Regions from separate parts of the Homo sapiens genome. Here region 1 is linked to region 2. The links are contacts of gene promoters, found by promoter capture Hi-C in blood cells and fetal thymus (Javierre and others, 2016). All regions are on one chromosome and are shown on one strand. Each heading gives the region's core, a stretch centred on a gene start or on the middle of the fragment in contact. The rest is flanking DNA. Distances are from core to core; before and after follow the strand shown. Region 1 overlaps CRIM1 (cysteine rich transmembrane BMP regulator 1). Region 2 holds the start of VIT (vitrin).

Region 1 (3,035 bases), core at 482-2,981, 240 kb after region 2:
CCACAGCCCTTTCAGCAAAGAACAGGAATGCCCCTCAACCTCTGCCTCGCCCCGTCACCCCAGAGGTATCCTCCTGGTGTGGGTGCTGATGTTATCCTAACATTCCCCATAGTAGGCTCCTTCTGCAGAGGAGGCAGCTCGGAAGCAGCAAGCCATCATATTCCTCATCTTCCCCAGCAGACTCTGATCTTCCTCTGCCCGTATCCTAGAGGAAAACAAGTCAGTGAGGTCTTCTGGAAAAGATTTCTTTCAATACTGGATCTACTACACACCGGAAGTGAGTGCTTGAGGCCTTCAAAAGTGGAGACATGACCGCCTATAAATTAAAAACTACTTACAGGTGGGTGGGAGGTCGCCCTTTAGTCAGGAAACAAGGATAAATGAGGAGCAAAAAGGGCAAAGCCCTTGTGTTACTAGGATTCTACACAGTGTGTTAATGAAATAGCTTGTCGGGAATGGAAATTATAATGACATATAAAACACAGTGCTATTCTATAAAAAGTAGCTGCAACTTTAATTAAATTCGATGTACTATCTTTCTACTGATTAAATTTCTTACTCTTTCCAGGAATGTGTAAGTTTTTTTTTTTTTAAAGGCTGCAAATAAAATATCCAAAAAGAAACAGGTTTCCTATCTGAGGGTCCAACCCTTCTTATGGAAAACAGCACTCCTCCCTATGAAAGTTCCTTAGGCTCACAGTTTTCCTCGTGCCTCACCATAAGAGATTTACTACTATCTGTGTATGAATAACTAACCCTCCTTCACCCTTTCTCCCCTGTCTCAAGCTTATTCCTGCGTGATTTCCTGGCATTTACACCCCCTAACACTGACAGATGTGCTGTAGCCACAGCAAGTGCAGCCCTGCCCTGGGGATCACACTCTCCCCCCGCAGCCATCCCTCCCCTGTGTACAGTGAGCAGAAACTGTACCTTCTTCAACACTTTCCCTTTGAAGACCACCAGAAAAAATCACTCTGCCTTTCGTTGTTGTTGTTTTACGCTTTGTTTTTTTCTGGGGGGAGGAATCAAAGGACATGCTCACATGTAGGGAAGGTATAAGTTAAAGACAATTAGGTTTGGGTTCAGTGTATACTGTTCAGGTGATGGGTGCCCCAAAATCTCACAAATCACCGCTAAAGAACTTATGTAACCAAATACTACCTGTTTCCCAAAAACCTATGGAAATAAAAAATTTATAAAATAAATAAAAATAAAATAAAATATTCCCTTGCCTTCCTACTACTGGTAATAATAATAAAGCAGCCATTAAGCTCTTCTCTTCCTAGCTTCCTCCTCGAGGCTGGCATGTGGCTCCGGAAGCTTATCTTAAGGTGCTAAGTTGAAAGGAAAGTGGTATAAGCTGCAGGAGAACAGAAGTTGTAAGTCTACGTGGTTCCTATAAGAATTTAACAATTATCTTCTAGGACTCTGCCCCACAGAAAGTAGGTGTGGTGGGGAGAAAACAACGGCATCTTTCACAAATTACTACCTTGACGTGAGTGGCTAAAAAAAAAAAAAATCAGGGTTAGTTTTGAAGGGACTCAACCCCAGCGGTGGGTGGTGGGGGGGTGGAGACAGACACAGCAGAAACACAGCTGAAAGTAATCGCAGGGCCCGTGCCCCTGTTGAAATGTTACAGCTGGGATCTGGCAGAAATCCTGGGCCACTCAGTCCAGCTCAACAATCCGATATCACACATCGAGAGCTGGCCAAGTCCCAGGAACGGAAGGCTCCCTGCCTTCACTTCCGTAGGTCTAGGGGAAGACAATGGCATCTGCTTTCACGGCTGGTAGGATGGCTTTAGAGAGTAAGACAGGATGGGAGTGAGAGCTGCATGAAGGACTAGTTTGGAAAAGGAGGAAGGGAAACTGGCACATCACGCTGTGGAAAGGAGAACTGGGCTGGGAAGTGGAGAATAAGTTTTAGTTTAGCAACATAGGTTATTCCCACTTCAGAGTGGAATTTCCAACTGCCTCAGAAAATAGATGCTTTGGAACAATGAATCAGCTTGTTTATGAACACGTAATGATTTTGTAGCTGTTTACCGAGTGTGTACATGCAGCAGGTACTAAGCTGGATTGCGGCTGGGGATACACAGGGTTCTGGCCCTAAGTTTAGGGAATTTAGTTTAGGGAAGCTTTTATATATAACCACAAATGAGAACACAATGGGAGGTTGACTATTAAATCCTCTCCCCAGAGCACACAAAGAACAAACACCAACGATGTCTGGACTAACCTTCTACTTGAAAATCTGAGCAAAGCCTCCATTGCCTGGCTGCTAACACTCCTTCAGGCCGCCAGAACCATCTGGGGCCTGAGCTAGTGCTGAAACAGATGACTTTAAGCATGCATCCACTTGGATTCCTTTGGGCAGTCAATTCCCAGCCTCTCATCCTTGTCATCAGTGCAAAGTGAAAGACCGTATTGTCTCTCATCCTCCAAGGAATGCACATCCCCAGAGAGCACTGCTCTGGGACTCATCCCTTCCAACTGACTCCCCTGCTTCCTCCAAACTTTCCTCTGCAGACAAACTCCCCCATCCTCCGAACATATCACACAATGCACCACTCGAATTTGTTTCTAACATTTACCTGGCTCTCCCCTAAAGATTCTATTTCCTTATAGCCATCTCCAGTGAGACTGAGAATCCCCACATCCTACTCACTTATTCACCTGGGATGGAAGGGAGGTCAGCATTCTCCAAGTTGACCACTGGCTACTTGCACATGGTTGCTTTCCTCTCTCATGCAAACCTTCCCTTCCGGTGACTCTGTCTCCTATCCAACGCTTTAGAGGGCAGAGGTTTGGGGAATGCACTTTGGCAACAACACAGTCTTAGGTTCAAGTTCTGGCCGCTTAGGAACTATGTGACCTTGAGTAAGTTAAGTAATCTCTCTAAGCCTCAATTGTAGCCTATGTACAGTGGGGATGATTAAAGTACCCACATATCATATGACTGCTATGTGGATTAAACGAACTGATGAAAAGCACCCAGGATAGTGCCTGGAACACAGAAGCACACAACACCTGTTA
Region 2 (2,705 bases), core at 78-2,577:
GCAGCTAACACACATAGAGAGAAAATACACAAACAAACAGTGTTTGATCCTGCTTTGCTGCAGGGTGTTTTCATCTTTCAAGAGACCAAGGGAAAAACAACCTCAGAACTTTACCACCAAAACTTCCAAATTTATTGCAACACAACGTAACGGCAAAATACTATTTTCTTAGCACACGCAATTTTGAGCAACCACCACGGCCAAGAATGCTTGTTTTTATTTTTACAATAAGTCCAAAGAAAATTTTTAATTCCACTCTTGATTTAGGAATGGCAAAGATGCTGTGGGTTGTTTGGAGAAAACTGTCATGTCTAATTATTCAGTCTTATCCTCTCTCTTTAACCTGTGCTTGAGGCGTTTATTTCATGTTTATACTAGTTGGACACAAATCATACTTAAAAGAGATTTCATATCCTGTCTTCCTGTGAAAAGCTGAGCTACGATGGCAGACTTAACAATGCCAGCCCCTTGTTGGGCTTATCAGTAACAGAAGCATTCAGCCTAAGAAAACACTTTAAGTGTAAACAAGACACAGAATCGCACATCTAGCCACATTCCACTGAAATCTGTCTGAATAGAGAGAAGTAGAGATCCACACGAAATAGTTTCTCTTTTAAGTTAGCACCAATGTGCCCATTTCTCATACTGCCATTCACAATCTTTATAAGCAATTTGCTATATTGCTATTACATTCCACATATTCCAAGCAAAGTTTTTAAAAAAGCAAGATAATAGAGACTTAAATTACTTTAAAATTCTACACAAATGTCATACTTTTCAACTTATTTGTAACCATAATTAAATTGGTTTAAAGGAACAGTAAAAATCTTGTTATAATATTAATATCAATGCAGTTTATTTATAATTGATAAATATATATGTATATTACTAGTTGTTTACAAGGATGCCAAGTACCATCCACTTTCATCTCAACTCTCTTGAAACTGAAATTTGCTTACTCGGTCAAGCTTTGTATTGTAGTTTCTTAAAGACAAATACGTTTCAATGATAATGAATGGAAAGTAACTATATACACAGCTTAGAAATTCATCAGACATACCTTGTTTGAAGAAGGCAATTTTTTTTTCAAAAAATTTTCACCACACAGAATGAATATTCTTTTTCCCTTAGGCTTTCCTGCATCACAAATCCCATCCAAATTATTCTAAGGAAGAAACAGGGAGAGGTCCAAGAACCTTTTCTCTTCTTCTCAGAGGAGCTAATCGAACAGTCCCATCAACCTCTCAGTACTTTGAAAAACACATTTTACACCCCCCCCCACACACATACACACACACACATGCTCACACATACTGCTTCTCACACTGGTTTTAGTGCTGAATTAGGCGGTCCTCTTTCAAATTTCCACTCCCACTGCTTTTTTTTTTTTTTTTTTTTGTAAGGATTTCTAAATATTCTTTTGTAGCCCAAAGCACAAACTTTCAGTAAGCAAATTCTACAATTTGACATTCTAAAAAGTAGAGGAGGACCACTTAGATAAAAATGGAAAGTAAAAGATATGTTTTAAAAATTACTTCAGCAGGGGCAATTCAATTTTTTCTTTCTTTTTCAAAAGCTAGTGAACAGCTGGACTGAACTGCACAAAGAAGGAAAACTGTGCAAACACTCTCAAACTTATTCTACTGGACTCCCACTTTTGAATTGAAAATATGTACTTTTTCCTACATATTAATGCTATTTTTTTGTTTTGTTTTGCTTCAGTCCTTTCTGCGTTTTGGCAAGTTTTATGAAATGACTCAATTATATGCTGGTAGTTACAGGACACAAGATAATCATAGTGGGAAGCAAAACCTGACTCATGTTTCAAAAAAAATACTGATGAATAATCTCACATGAAATCTGCCAGTTTTAGTTATTTATATATTAGTGTCATCAATGAAATCTAAGAGATTCAGATTCAAAATGTGTATTAACGTATCACATCATTAAAAAAAAATCAGACCAAAAAAAAGTACATCTGGCAGATCTTGAGATTCCAGTGTCCATCAGTGTGGCAGAGCATCTGTTTTCAAGCACAGGAGAAGGTAGCAAAGAGTCATTCCTCCTCCTGCTGGGGAGTGTGCACTCACGCAGCTAGGGAGGAGAACCTTCTTCCATTCGAGAAGCCTCCTGTCCTCATCTGTTGGCCCTGGAACTGCTCCTTATTTAAGATAATTGTTTGACAGATCTTGTGCTCTAATGCCAAGTTATACATGGGATGATTGCTGGCACGTCTTCATTGGCTATATAAAATGTGGCCGAGAAGATAGGCTCTCACGGTAAGAAGTCTGTGTTGATTAGGAGTAACTTTGGCCCAGCTCTCTGGTCTAAAGCTCTCAAATGTGACTATGTGAATCTGGGTGGGATTCATCTGCTCAATGCCATTGTGCAGAGATGCATAAGCTTTTTAATGCTATAAAACATGGTAGCTGAAATTAAATGCCACTTTTTCAGAGGTGAATTAATGAAGAGCCTGATGAAATTCAAAGCTTTTTGATGTATAAAACTTGATAAATGGAATGATTCCATCAATAGGCGAAGTGTAGCAAGCTATCTAGATGGATAGTATGTAATTTCTGCACAGGTCACTGTTAAATAAATACATCACTGTACACTGATCAGGAATCTTCCTCCATTAAAGGAACATGAAGACTAAAAAAAGGGAGATAATGATTTGAATGTTATTTAATCATTTTTACCCTTAC

The links. Contacts are between HindIII fragments. The CHiCAGO score rates a contact against its expected background, and 5 or more counts as called.
Region 1: a fragment that was not itself captured here is called in contact with the fragment with the promoter of VIT in region 2 in 1 of 17 cell types (M1 macrophages); the score reaches 5.8 in M1 macrophages.

What each region holds. Positions count from the first base shown.
Region 1 is chr2:36,455,314-36,458,348 of GRCh38, reverse strand. The region is part of intron 4 of CRIM1 (cysteine rich transmembrane BMP regulator 1); the gene reads right to left. Among named protein-coding and RNA genes, the nearest start is that of CRIM1, 100 kb to the right of the region's middle. The HindIII fragment of the contact is 817 bases long and covers 1,323-2,139 here.
Region 2 is chr2:36,695,329-36,698,033 of GRCh38, reverse strand. It overlaps VIT (vitrin), which reads right to left and starts at 1,327. Exons shown (of 16, transcript NM_053276.4): 1 at 1,061-1,327. The region is part of intron 2 of LOC124905990 (a long non-coding RNA gene); the gene reads left to right. The HindIII fragment of the contact is 1,435 bases long and covers 971-2,405 here.